Linked DNA regions of Homo sapiens: regions 2 and 3 are each linked to region 1. The links are contacts of gene promoters, found by promoter capture Hi-C in blood cells and fetal thymus (Javierre and others, 2016). All regions are on one chromosome and are shown on one strand. The core of a region is centred on a gene start or on the middle of the fragment in contact, and the rest is flanking DNA. Distances in the headings are between cores, read along the strand shown.

Region 1 (4,915 bases), core at 1,102-3,601:
CTCTTCCCTCACCCACCTCCAGGGCACAGCCGAAAGGATAAAAGTTCTCCTAATACCCAGAAAAACAAGCTGGCCTTTTCCAGAAGAAAAAGAGCTTTCCTAGAATCAACAAAAATTGAGGATGATCATAAAAGTCTAAGAGAGAAAAAAGCACTAGGACAACTCTAACGAGCAATTTAAATACATTACATCAAAGTGGACTATTTTCTTATGTGAACTTTGGCTCAGTCTGAAGTCTTTGGAGAGGGTGGTGCCTTTTTTTCCTAGGATGGGAGGGAAAAAGCGAACATTTAGCAGAGTATGGCAGAAATGGTCTAGTGATGCTGCAGTGCCTCCTTCTCACAACGCTAAGATGGGAAGCAGACACGTGCCCTGTAGGGCATCTGCTCGTATGTCCGGCTTGAGCTCCTGCCTGAGAGTTGCTGTGGCTCTGGAGTCTCAGAAGCTGCATCACTCACACCTCCGACCATTCCCTTCCCAGGTGGACCCCCCGCCAACCAGACCCAGAGTCTGTCCTGGGGGCCAGAGGGGCAGGCACAGAAACTGGCGCCTGGCTCCCAGGATTAAGAAGACACTATTAAAAAGCATCGCTGGTTTCCCCTAAATTTGGCAGTAGGAAAATAACTTAGGACTTTCAAGAAGAGTCCTAGTCGCTCACTGATCCGTCTTTTCCCCTCACAGATTGTGACACAGGCCCATTCCCGGTGAACATTTTGGCTGGCAGTTACTTCACCACCTATTGAAATTCTGTTTACGTTTGGCCCAGAGAACCTGGACGGATGTTTGTATCTCGGGGGCCCCATCTAGTACAATTCCTGGTGCACAGGCTTGCAACAAATTTACGAAGGTAACAGACCAAGCTGCCGGCGCTGTTTTTCACTGGAGGAAAGCTCGGCGGAAGCGACACCTAGAGGGGAGCGGCGGGCTGTGGCCGCGCCATTCATCAGTGTCGGCGGCCCGCGGCCGCGAGCGAGGGCTGCTGGACAGCGCCCCGGCACCCGCTCTCGAGCCGCGACACCGACCTCGCCGGGCCCGCCCCGCTGACCCGCGCACTCCTAGTGCACTTGCCGCGCCGCGCGGAGGCTCGCCGCGCTCTGGAAAACAAGAAACCCCACTGCCTCGGCGGCTTTCCGCTCCCGCAAGAGTTGCGGGCACAAAGTCCTCAGGTGGCAGGCCTGGGGTTGGCGCCGCTTTGTCGGCTGCAGGGAGCCCCAAAGACTAGCGTCAGCTCGTCCCCAAACTCGAGGCGACAGGCGCCGAAAGCAGAGTGCTGTGCCTGCCTCGTCCAGGTCCCTCCTGAAACTCAGAACTCGTCTTTGTTTTGCGGGCGCAAAGAGGGCGGAGATCATCCACAGTGCAAGCTCTCTTAGGACCAAGCCCCCAGCCCGAACGCTGAACGCCCCCAACACACTGCTCCCTAGACACGTTCAAGCGGGTACCCCGGGCCGCTCACTCTGGACCGCGGCCGGCTACGCACAAGCAGCGCCGCAGGCTGCCTGGAGTCGGGTCGTGCCCTGATTCCTTCCTCCCCAGCCTCACATGCGGCGGACCCCGGGGAAGCCAGGGCCAGGCGAAGCGCAGCGGGCCCTTTGGGCTGCAGCGAGGAGACGCAAGTTTCCCCGCAAAGCCGCGGGGAGGAGGTGCTGAGAATGCCTGCCCGGCGCCCCAACCCGGAGCCAAGGGCACCGGGCCCGGGCCGAGGGGCCGCGCTCGCCTGGCTCCGCCGGGGCCGCTCGGGGTCCTGAACCCAAGAACGGCGCCTGCAGGATTTCGGAGCCGGGCGCGAGCTGCGGGCTCGGCCCGAGCGCTTCTGCGTGGCGCCCCGCGTGCCAACCGGGTCACTCCGGTCCCCACCGTAGACCCCGGCCACGAGCCTCGGCGTCCCAGCCTCTCCTCGAGTCCTGGCCTTGGCCGGGGTAGCCCTGCCGAGCCCTGGCCCAGCGGTCCCTTCCCCGCGGGCAAACTTGGCTTTCCCGGCGCGGGCAGTAAGGACAAGCAAGCGCCCGCGCCGGGCCCTGCAGCAAGATGCGGGGCCGCGGGCGCCAGGACCCCAGTGGGGTGCAGCGGGACCGGCTGGTGGCGGCGCCAGCGACATGGCACCCTCCCCGCGCCCGCTGGGAGCTGCGCCCGCGTACCTGAGACGGCCGGGGCCGAGGGGAAGACCAGGTGGCCGGACTTGGGCGGGAGGGAGGGAGCACCCCGTGGCGGCGGCGGCGACCCCGCCCCGCGTCCTTCGGCTGGTTTCTCGGGCTGTCGGCGGGTCCCGGGCTCGCTGGAGGCTGTTGAGGCTCCAGCTCCCTGAGCCGCCGCTGCCCGCTGCTGTGCCACCGCCGCCGCGGCTGCCCTATTTCTGCCGCCGGGACCGGAGCCCGTGACGTCACCCTCTGGGCCCCGCCTGCCCAATCGCCGCCACCTGTGCGCGCCGCCCGCCCGCCAGCCGGTCAGACCCGCGCGGCGGCCACGGCAGGTGCGCGGAGCAGGCGGGCGCGCACGCGGGGCGCGATGACTCCGGAGCGCTGGGGCCATCTAGGGCCCGGAGGGAGGAGGGCCAGCGTAGCGCTCCTGCCTCTGGCTAGCGTGGAGCTCGGCAAGTGACAGCCCCTCTTCACCTCTGCTCTCCTCCAGGCTCCTTTCCGGGCCAGGTTCCCCAAAGCTGTGCTCTCCAGGCGCACAGGGGGTCTCTGAATCCGCGGCCATTGCTCGTGGAGTCCAGGCGGGCCGGTACACCACAGCAGGAGAGCTGTCCCTGGGGACAAAGTGGGTGAAATCCCCCGCCGTTGAGACCCAACAACCTGGGAAACAGCAAAGGTTTTCTCTTTTCTGAATCTTCCCTCTTCCAACTACAGAATCTTAAGACATTCAGGGCATACAGGGGCAATCCCAAGTGACATTTGCCTACCTGACCTAGCTGGGCCCAGAGGGTCCCTTCTCCCTTAGAACAGGATATTTCCCCATCCTGATCCCATCCCCAAGCCTGGGGCTCCCAAACTTTTCTGAATCCCTCTTTAACATCAGCAGCTTTTGAGATCAGTCTTCCTTCCCGAATGAACTGGAAACACCTTTGTAACAACTAGGGGCCCATAAATGGTCATACGTAGCCTCAGTCTGGCAGGAAACTTAGGAGGGAGCCCCTACCCAGGCCAGGCTGATGGCCAGGAGACTTTCTGAGGGCCTGCCTCCTGCTCTGGCTGCGTGGGCACCAGGGGCCTTCCTGGCTTAGGTGAACAGTGTTCTGTCCATGCCTCTGTAATCTCTCCTGGCCGGGGGGAGGTGACAGAGGGGATTTTTCTGAGGATGAAGTTAGTTAAATATAAGGAAAAGGGGAAGAATAATGGAAGGCTGACCTGAAGAAAGAGATATTACGTTTGTTTTTTCCTTCCACAGATTTTCCTGCCGCTGAACCCCTCCAATGCAGCAGGCACTGTGCTATTAATAGTTGCTAGAGATACAGCAGTGAATGGGCCAGCGCGGTCTTGGCATCACACAGTTTTGGTCTGGGGTCCAGCTCTCCCTCTATCACTGCCAAGCTATGTAATGCAGAGCCAATCGTATCTCTACTGTAGGTATCAGTTTCCCCACTTGTAAAATGAGGGGTTGGACAAAACCTGGTTGACTTCCCATGTGGATACCATGATTTTTACTCAGAAGGATAAAGGCTACTACATCCTCAGTGACCCTGGGCCCTAGCCAGTGTGATCCTCTCTCAGATTTGACTATGAATCTTTGCCAAGGCCACCATGACTGAACTTCTGGGGCTGGCTAGGGGCCAGATTCTCCATGGCAGGACTGGGGAAGGGATGGCACTTTTCATCTTGGGAAACAGAAAAGAGAAAATGAGTATAAAAGGAAGCAGGGAAGTTTGGAAATGTGCTGTGCCTCCCTCTGAAATGTAATTCTAAGTCTGTGGTCAGGAACGTACACCATGGCTTAGAGGCTGGATTCGGCTCTCCTCTAAGACATGAGGTATTTGGAAAAGCAGATTTCTATTCTCAGCTCTGATCACAAAGTCCCTGAGTCAACCTAGTGGCCTTATTACATAATCAAAGCAGGACTTTGTGTATTTTTTGTTTTTTAGTAACTCAAGGTCATATGTAAATCAGGGTCTATAGGTTGACCAAGATCAGAAATAGCTCTGTTTAATGCAGTGAACAGGCACTGAACTTCTACACGCTTCCCAAAGAAGGAGAAGAAGGTAGTTGCTGCAAACCAGATGTATGGAATATTCCTTAGAGAGAATGCTAACATCTGAAGTGAGCTGTTTAACTACTGTGCATAAAATAAGAGTGAAATTAAAAGTCACCTCGGAATGAGAAAGGTGAAGTGTGAATGACAAAATAAAACAAGGCTCCAGGGAAGCAGCATCAGATGCCAGTAACCTTGACACCTCTTTGAATTGCTCTGTGCTTTTACCTCTCAGTGTAATTTTTTGTTTAATAGTACACCCCAAATTGGAAAATAGGCTAGATTTCACACTGAGAATTTCAAAATTTGCCTGAAACCCTGTTTCAGAACTTGCAAGCATACTGATTCTCAATAGCCAACTAGGATTCTTAGGGGAAATAATGGTTAAGTTTTGAACTTCATGTAATTCAATAAGCTTGGAATAGGGGAGCTAAAAGGAAACATAAATTCCAGTTACTGCCCCCCAGCCCCACTCTGTTTTTGGTGAGTGGTTCAGCCAGAGACACACATAAAAACATTATTAATATACTTTTACAAGATCAAAAAGTTTAAGCAACCCAAATATTTTTTTACGTTGCTGGTTTAAAATCTTTTTTCTATTTCTAATCCTTACCAAAAACACAACAATATAATGAAAAACTACTGCCAAATGATGTGTGTCTCTTAGGACATTTCAGATTACACCTGCATATCAGGATACTCAGAGATGACACATAGCCATGGGAATCAGGAG
Region 2 (4,915 bases), core at 1,231-3,730, 200 kb before region 1:
CAAGGGCCGCCCCGGTCCGCACCTTGCCTTGGTTGGATCACTTGTCATAGATGTGTCTCACAATAACAACATGCTTTTCTCCTTCATTCTACTTTTAAAGAAAAAAATGGCTCAGTTAAAATATCTAATATTAGCACAGAAAACTACCATTTTCTAATCAGGAGCATTTCAATTTCTCCTCTCAAGGATCTGCCCTTGTCTCTCAACGGGATTATCAGCCATAAAAACATGCACTGGATAATATCAAGACAAAGCTTAGTAACAATATCGGACAATCTGATTTCATCTATTCTCAACTTCAATCCCCTGGCTCAACCGAGCCAAGCAGTGGCTGAGGCCTCTGACAGGTGGGCCTGAGGGTTCTGGGAAGCTGGCTTTCCTGAATGCATGGGTGGGCTGGTCTGCTCTACCCCTGAGTACAGAAGAGCATGTGGAGACCAGGGGTCTCCACTGGGGCCTGACAACCTGTCTACTTCTATGAGAAGCTCACAGGGTCAGCAATTGCCCTATCAGGTACTCTCTGTGAGACCACCACTGCCTTAAGGTACTTCAGTGTTGCCTTCAAACAGGCTATGGAAAAGAACCATATACACTGGGAGCTCCAGCCTCTGAAAAAATGACTAGAATTACAGCTACTGCAGAGGAGGAGTGACACCTTAAATAGTGACAACAAAATACCAAAATGCCACGAGAATCAAGCACAGCACAAAGAAGGCTTTTGGGGGAACTATGATTTTTGAGCCAACAAGAAAATCAGGAGAATTTCAGGAAAGAATTTAAGGAGATAATGGTCACTATTGAGATGTCAAGTCTTCCAAGGTTAAGAATATCAGGGCAATTTAAGGAGACAATGGTCACTATTAAGACTCCAGTCTTCCAAGGTCAAGAAGAAGACATATCTCAAAACCTAGAGTGAAAATAGAAATAAAGAAAGTCTTAAAATACAGTAATAATTCCATTTAAAACTCTAAGGACAAAGAAATAGAAGAAAACTCCTTAAATAGCCAATCACTAACTGTTTCCAATTAAAATCAGGAGCCAGACAGGGATATTTGTTATCATCATTCTTATTCATAAAGGAAGTATAATAAGACAAGACAATGAAATAATCATTAACATTTGGAAAAGAAAGACAGCTAACAACGATCTCTTTTTGATGATTATGTATCTGTATACTTAGAAATCCAAGAGACTCCAGTGAAAAAATATTAAAATTATAAGAGAATTATGAAACTAGTTGGACAGATGATAAATATGCCAAAATTAATCATTCCTCTCAACAGTAGCAATAAATAATTAGAGGTGAAAAACGGAAAAACCACCTACTCATAATCATGGTAAAAACCATAAAATATTAGTAAACAAATTTGACAAGAAAGCCATAGGACCTATATAAAAAATGGCTGTAAAACCCTATTGAAGGTCATAAAATAAGATTGGAACATTGCTTATTCGTGGGTAGGAAGACATTCTCATAAATACACAAATTTAATGCAATCATTTTAGACTTAGATGAAATGATCTTAAAAAGTTCATTTGAAGTAATAAGTGCCCCCAGATAACCAAGGAAAATAAGAGAAAGAATACTGTAGGGGGATGTGCCTTCCCAGATACTAGAACATTCAACCCAGAAAGCTGCTGTGATAAAATCAATATGAGATCAACCTAGGAAAAGGCAAATCAGTGACTGCAGATTTGGCAATAAAATAGAAAACAGGATCCAGAAATAAATGCCAATGTATATGAAAATTAGATGTATAATAAGAGTTACCACTCCAATGGGAAAATGATAGCTCTCTGATAGATGATGCTGGGGCAACCTGCTATCCACCTAGAATGAAACAACATTGGAAACCTATTTCACACCACACAAAAAATCAAATTTGAATAACTATAAATGTTTAAATTATTTCTATTAAATAATGAGTAGACAGAAAAGAACACTTATCCACTCTATGGATGGCTTAAGCATTATCGTACAACAAACGGATGAATCCATTCATTTAAAGAAAAAGAACGGTGTCTTTCATTTTGAATTTTCCCATGTGTCCCTCTCCAGTTCTATTCCCTCATTGCCACACAGAGACCGTCATTAGCCTGAATTTTGTGTTTATCATTCTTTTGGTTTATCTCACCTTTGTATTTCTATGCAGTATGTTGTTTTCCATGTTTTTGAACTTTATATAAATGAATCACACTCTATGTACTCATCAGAGACTTTCTTCTTTTGCTCTCCCACGATATTTAGTTACACCCATGTCTGCATATAGTGGTGATTCATTCATTGTCCTTATAGTACCCCCACATAAACATGTTATTTATTTAGTTTATATTAGATTGTTTATTTGCCTTTTTCTGTGGTCCTCTTTCTCTCTTTTGGTTCCTTATTTTGAATCAAATACTTCACCCTGATTTTCTTCTTCTGCTCATATAAAAATTAAATATCTCTTTTATTCTTCTACTGTTTATCTCAAATTTTAAAATGTATAATTAAGCCAAAGTCTATAATCAACACTTTAACCCTCCCCATGAAGAACCTTAGAACACCTTAGAACCTTTCCTGACGTAACTATATGACAATACTGTATATTGTGAGTCTGTCTTTATTCCTCATAATTCCTTCTTATACCTCAAATTCTCTTTATGTTTGTCTAAAATGTCTATTTTATCCTAATTTTAAAGAGTTTTTTATGCTGTGTAATTACTCTTATGTTCGTGTATTTTTTTTCTTTCAACTTGATAAACCTTTTGTTCCCCTGCCCTCTGGCTTTGTTGAGATGTTACCTGATAGCCTTTTCATTCCCTTATAGGTAATCCATTTTTGATGTCTGGATAATTTTAACATCTTCTCTGGTTTTCTGCAATTTCTCTGTGATGCAAACACACATATTTCTTTGCATTTATTCTGCTTATAATTCATCAGGTTTCCTGAAAGTGAGGATTTCTATCTTTCATCAGTTCTTGAACATCCTTACCTATCTTCCATTAAATGGTATCTCTATTCCATTATTTTTCTCCCTCTTTTCCAGGTATTCTAATTAGAAATATGCTACAAATTTTCATTCTATTTAAGTATCTCTTATCTCTTTCGCATTTCCCATCTTTGGTTTTTCTATGTTGCATTCTGTATAATTTTTCAAATCCGTCTTCCAGCTCTTAAATTAACTCTTCAGCTATTTCTAACCTACTGTTACACTCTTCCACTGAGTTTTGAATTTTGAATTTTCAGAAGTTCTTTTTAGCCATTCATAAAGATGATTGGCCATTTGTATAATCTCTTGATTTTCAATCATATTTTTAATTTTTAAAAAATATTAAATATACATATTTTATATTCGGTATCATTTTGTTATTCACAGATTTTGTTGGTTCTTACATGGCATTCTCCTTTTGGTGTTTTGATTTCTTTTTAAAAGAGCTCACATTTTCTGGAATATAATCTGTGAAAATTTTTTGAGATATAGTTTGGATATAGGCTCTTCTTGATTGTGCCGGGCACCCAAGGACTCCACCATTCTGGGTTAAACTAAATTTTATGTTTGAGATTTTTCAGGTTACTCAGGTAGTTTGCATATGAGCTACAATTCCTTCTGGCGATCAGTCTATGGTTATACATTTTCAAGGAAATTTCTCTCTGTCTACTCAGTGCCAAGATTTGAGGCAGGAACATTTTCTTGCCAGTCCTTGGGACTGGGTGGATTTCTTTCTTTCTTGTTCACCCTTACACTGCAGATATAGCACTTGAGGGGCCCAGGTGTATATATATAGGGGACTGGGAGTGGGAACCTTCCACATATGCCTACCTCGGAAGGACCCTGGGATTTGTCCTTGGTATCCTGAGCCACGGAGGGTATGTAAACCAAAACCAACGTTCACCTAGTTTGGCAAAAGCCCTCAAGGTAAAGTCAGTCTCACAGCTATCTTACCTCTCTGGATTCCTGATTTCACTTGTATTTTTAGCCTCTAGGTAGTCCTTATTTTCTTACCAAGCACATCAGTGTTTAAAAGGATTTTAAAAAATATTTATCTGCTATGTTGCCAGAGGCAAAAGTCAGATTATGACTTTTAAAAACAGAATCCAACAATTAAAGAAACACTTCGAGGTAAATACCGGGGTATTATTTTCAACACGGCACCATTTAGCCCTTTGGAGAAGAGACAAGAACAATTCCTATTGCAGAAGAACCCTAGGAGCCTGGGTTATTGCCAGACAGCCTATTTTCATTTTCCTGAGCCCACCTGCATGTTAAAAGCAAGTTTAAACTCTCCTGCCACCAGGAATTTAAACAATAAAGAGAAGCCTATTAATGGGATACAATGGAGGAAAAAAATGGACACATTTGTTACCAATAACCTATGCACCTCTCTTCCACCTCCAAACCCAACTTAGAAGCCCTTAGCATCAGTACTTTCTTTCTTCGATATGTAGATGTGGCTGGCTACAAATACAAGGTCAGTGACTAGTTCCTTTTGAGCCACTTCTGATAGAAGAAATCAAAAGACTGAGTTGAGTTTGAAGTATCTTCTGAGCAGGCAATGCCTTGCTTTAGGCAGGCCCACCACAGTGTGGGTCTCGACCTATAATGTCATCTGATCTCTCATCTATGTTGGTCAGGACAAGCCTGTTTGACTGTCCGGCTCTCCTGAGATGGTAGCATCCGAAAGTGAAGGCTTTACCCTCCACTGTCGTTGATGTATTTCCACCTAAAGCTTGGACAAAAGTCATTCTAAGTACTGGCTCAGTCTTACTTATGGTGGCAAAATTAGACAATCTTAAAAATCAAAATATTCTTCTGAGCAGGTCACATTAACCAAAACTAAATTATTTTTGATTCTTGTTAATATACTTAGATTTCAACTCTAAACACATAAGAATGACTTTCACCTTTTTTTAATTCCAAGGAGAGGAGATTCT
Region 3 (4,915 bases), core at 608-3,107, 180 kb before region 1:
GTAAACCAAATAGGCAGAAATCTGCTCCTTACAAATCTTATATTCCAGTGTCAAGTGGAAACCTATGGAAGATAGGATGCTGGGTGGGTGGGTGGCTGGCGAGGCCCACTCACTTGGTAACTGACTGATTTTCACACAGCAGCATTGGATTACACTTGATTCAAATTTATCCACAGCAACATAACAAATCTCCATCTTTAGAGATCCTTGCAGTACACCCCAAGCCACAAGCACTAAATCTGGCAATTTTTCATATGCTTCTGTGCCTTGCTATGTGTGGCATGGCCCAGATCTTTTAAGCAGTACTAAGAAATGGCTTACAAAGAGAGTGCAGAAGGCTTCTTGGGTTCTTTCTCATTAAAAGGCATCTGGCTCCTCTATTCTCTCTGCCCCTGACTCCTCAGGCTGTCAAAGAAGGAAAGAGAAATTTCAGGAGTTGCAAGGCAAAGAAAATCTAAGCTGTTCTCTTTTTCAGTGAACTAAAAGCCAGAGCTGAAATCCTGCATGTTTAAAACTAGAGCTCATTGGAATTCACCAAAACCTGGACAAGTTCCCCAGAGACCTGCAAAAGCTTAATAGTCCTATTTGTTTTTGAAGTAAGGGATACTGTGCAAATCCATTCCACCTGCCTGTCCATATTAGTGTCATTTTCTGGTCTGGTGGGTTAGACGGGGGAAGGATTACCCACTAACTGGCAACGGGGTACCCACGCAAGGGTAGGGCACCCCTTCAAGCCTGGAGATTTTCCAAAGTATTTGATTTTTTTGAGCACTGTTAGTAAGTCAAGCTGTTTGGCATGATTTACCTTTTTCAGTTTCAATGAAATGTTTTTGGTTTGATTTCTATTTCATTCATGTGGCAAGCATTTATTGCCTACTAAGTGCCAGGCAGTGTTCTAAGTGAATATAGCAGCCTGCAATGGAATTTATATTCTCATGGGCAAAGCTTAGACAATACAGAAAGGAGTCAGTTAAGAAAAAAAATCAGATGGTCGTGAGTGCAGACAATTAAAATACATTGATTCGATAGGTAAAGTCAGGGTGGCAACTCTGGGTGATCAGGAGGCCTCTTGGAGGAGGTGGATTTAAGCTGAGACCTCAGGAGAAGTCAGCTCTGTAAAGAGCTGGGGGAAGCACGGCAGGCAGAGGGAAGAGCTGGTGTCAAGGCCAGTGCAGGTGTCTGGGCCAAGAGGGGAGGCTAGAAAGGCTGAAGCAAGGCGGGAAGGGAGCGTGGCAGGAGATGAGGTCAGATAGGGAGGCAGCAGTGGGATTCCAGGGGCCTCCGAGCCATGGCAAAGGGAAAAGCTTAGGATTTTTTTTCAAGGTGTGATGGGAAAGCCCTGGAGGGTTTTAAGCAGAAGGTAATACAATCTGATTTACATTGAAAACAGATTACTATGGCTATTGCATGGAGATTGGTCTGCAACGGGGCAAAAGGGGAGGGAGGGAGACCAATGGGAGGCTTCTAAGTTTCTAAAGATGAAAGATGATGGTGGCTTTGACTAGGGCATAGTAGTGGTGATGAGAGAAGCAGACGAGACTCAAGGTGCGCTTTGGAAGTAGAGTTGATAAGACTTGGTTTGATGGATTAGATGAGGAGCTGTGGGGGAATGTTATAAAATAAATGGAATGTTTTTCAGAGAGAATAACTCCACATTTTACTATATTTCACCTTAGTCTTTTCCAGTTACATAAATATACATATGTACTTTATAAAATTGGAATCTGGAAGTAGTTTTATATCATGCTTTTAAACTTAACATTCTTTTTGTGACTATTTCCACAAGTCATAATTTTTAATGACTGAATAATATCTCATCATATGGGGCACACCATATTTCCTTTAACCAGTCACTGCTTGACATTTGGGCTGCTTCCAAAACTTCTGCTTTGACAAACAAAGCTACAGTAAACATCCCTGAACATAAATCTTTAGGCAATCTCTGATTTTTTTCCTTGTGATAAATTGCCTGAAGTGGAATTACTGAATCAAAAGCATGTTTAAAAAGAGACTTAATAAATAAGTACTGCCAAATTACTGGCCACAGAGTTGGTGCCATTTTATATTTTCATTGGCTACATTTGAGAGTCCCCTTTCACTCTATCCTTGCTAAAACTGAATTTTATCATTAAAAATTGCTGATTTCATGGCCAAAAATATATTGTTAACTGTTTTAATTTGCCTTATTTTGATTATTAGGAAGGTTCAGAATCTAATATTTAATAATGATGTGTATTTGGTGGATGGATGTGAATGTCTGTGTGTGTGTGTGCCCTCTGTTCATGTTCTTCACAAACTTTTCTATGTGGATGGTCATCTTTTTTATTGATTACTAGGAGCTCTTTCTATAGTAAAGTCATTCATAACTCCAACTATTTTTCCCCAGTTTTTCATTTGCCTTATGATATACAGAAGCTTAAAGATTTTATGTCATCAAATATATCAACCATGTCTCTAATTGTATCTTCCTTTTTTATGTGGTTTAGGAAAGCCCCACTCACCTTAGTAAAAGTACAAAAATATCTGCTCATATTTATTTGAGGTCTTTTATGATTTTATGTGTTTTATTTAACTTTTTAAGCCACCATTTCCCAAGTGATTTCTGCAGAACATGAAACACCAGTCTCACAAAATACTCAAGTAATTCTGGGAATAGCATGTGCTATAGTTCCCTCTTGGGATTGTAGCATGCACAGTAGCACCAAAGATGGTTAAAAGTCCTGCAATAAAAATATCTGCTTAACTTTGCTTACCATGGTGTTTTGCAGATGTATTTGACTCCAGAATCCTTTTCTTGTTATGTTTATTAATGTCGTGTAAGAGCGTTTTGGGACAAGTGCTTTAGAAGAGCCACCATATCCAACTGCAATATGAAGTCATCCACCTTATTAAAACAAATACTTAATCATTTGGCCCAGTACCATTTGAAAATAACTGATGATCCTTTTTCTCACAGTTTTGAAATGCTGTGTTAGGTTAGCACTATGTTCTAAGGTTTGCTCCTGGCCTTTCTGTTCAGTTCTACTGGTATGTTAAACTCTCACACTACGATTGTGCTCCTATTTTTCCTTTTATTCCTAACAGTAATCACTGATATTGTGTTATTTGGTACATAAAGCTCCATGACCACAGCATCTTCTTCATGGATTTTATCACCATAAAATGGCATCCCTTTTTCTCATTTAGTGTTGTTGCCTTGAATTCTACTTCCCCTCTAAATTGCTACCCTTGCTTTCTGTTTTTGTTTTTGACAAACAGAACTTCGCCCACTCTTTTTCCTTTAATCTCCTTATGCCATTTGGCTTTAAGTGTGTGTCTTTTCATTCTCTCATGCATCAGAAATGTATTAATACTTCCCACATGCCAAGTGTTAGGCACTAGAGAATACAGTGGTAATCACAAAAAAATACAATGCTTACCCTCTTCTGAGGGTATTCTAAGTATAGTATTTATTCTAAGTATAGTATAAAAGACAGACATCAGCCAATAGTTTCATAAGTATATGTAAAATTACAATGGTGGCCTATGTTTTATGGTATATGGCATTATGAGCTAAGTGCTACAAAAGTTTACAATGGAAGGACAATTTAGTTTGGTGGAATTGGCTCAGGAAAGGCTTTCCTAAGGAGGGGACACTTGGGCTCAGCTCCAAAAGATGTGTTTGTTAACTAAACTGGGTAAGGGGGAGGCAGTGGGAGTGCTCCAGATGGAGGATGACCTGTGGCAGGAAGGAGTGTGTTGTCAGTTAGTGGGGTTAGGCATGGAGAACAAAGAGAACATGGTGTGAGTTGAGGCTAGAAAGGTTAATAGGGTCAGACCATGCAGGATCTTTTGGATCCTGCTGAGAATTTGAGCCTTTATTCTAGAAGCATTGAGAAGTTATTAAACAGTTTTAAGCAGAAGTTTTACAAGCAATGATATGCTGGAGACTACTATTTATAAGGGCAGATGATTCGTATCTCTTCCCGACTCTGTGTTCCATGACATCACTGGACTGGTCAACTGAAGTCATCCACGGTAGTAGTATTTACACTACGGAAATTGGCAAATGCTATAAATTAGGACTTTTCCCACCGAGAACCGGTTGTTAAACATTTATCAGCACACCACTGATTGACATAATCACCAATTGTGTTTTGAAAAGAAATCACTCTGGTATTTGGGTGGAAAACAGATTCCAGGGGAGCAAGAAAGAATGCAGGGAGACTGGTTAGGATGTGATTATGAGAGTCTTGTTGAGAAAAAACTGTATTTTGAATTAGAGTGGTGGTATTGGAGATAGAGAGAAGTGAATGGATTTGAGATGTGTGTAATATTTAGAGCCAAAAATATTAATGATGGATTGGATTGAGTTGCTACAGGAGAAAGAGGTGACAAAGATGGCTCAAAGATCTATGGCTTAGGAAGATGGATGAAGGGTGGTACCAATTACTGAGATAGAAGCACTGGTTGGAGAATGGTGCTTTTTTGGGTTGTTGTTTATTTGTTTTTCTGGCAGGAAGGTTAGTGATGGGGAAAGACCATGAGTTTAGATTTGGACATTCTGAGTTTTAGTTGCCGGTGAGGCACTCAAGTGCCTTTGTCAAGTAGGCAGTTGGACATATTGGCCTGGAAATCAGAGCAGAGGTCTAAGTAGGAGCCGTCAGTGACAGTCACCGCACTTGGGCACTATTTCAACCTTTGGGCATGGTTGAGGTAGCTTGAGAAGGTAATATGGAATCAGAACACAGGATTGCTCATTTAATCTCTAAGATTTGAGCTTGAAGAAAGAATATTTAGTAGCCAACATTTAATGCAAACTGTATATAGTATATAGTAAATAGGTGTTTTTTTTTTTTTTTTTTTTTTGAGATAGAGTCTCACCCTGTTGCCCAGGCTGGAGTGCAATGGTGCAATCTTGGCTCACTGCAACCTC

What was found. Contacts are between HindIII fragments. The CHiCAGO score rates a contact against its expected background, and 5 or more counts as called.
Region 2: a contact is called between a fragment that was not itself captured here and the fragment with the promoter of FSTL4 in region 1, in 1 of 17 cell types (M0 macrophages). The highest score is 5.2, in M0 macrophages.
Region 3: a fragment that was not itself captured here is called in contact with the fragment with the promoter of FSTL4 in region 1 in 2 of 17 cell types (endothelial precursors and M0 macrophages); the score reaches 6.1 in endothelial precursors.

The regions. Positions count from the first base shown.
Region 1 is chr5:133,610,190-133,615,104 of GRCh38, forward strand. It overlaps FSTL4 (follistatin like 4), which reads right to left and starts at 2,352. Exons shown (of 16, transcript NM_015082.2): 1 at 2,136-2,352. RefSeq lists a silencer at 1,034-1,083. The HindIII fragment of the contact is 11,171 bases long and covers 1-4,595 here.
Region 2 is chr5:133,410,627-133,415,541 of GRCh38, forward strand. The region is part of intron 3 of FSTL4 (follistatin like 4); the gene reads right to left. Among named protein-coding and RNA genes, the nearest start is that of MIR1289-2, 15 kb to the right of the region's middle. The HindIII fragment of the contact is 4,456 bases long and covers 253-4,708 here.
Region 3 is chr5:133,432,660-133,437,574 of GRCh38, forward strand. The region is part of intron 3 of FSTL4 (follistatin like 4); the gene reads right to left. Among named protein-coding and RNA genes, the nearest start is that of MIR1289-2, 7.4 kb to the left of the region's middle. The HindIII fragment of the contact is 1,111 bases long and covers 1,303-2,413 here.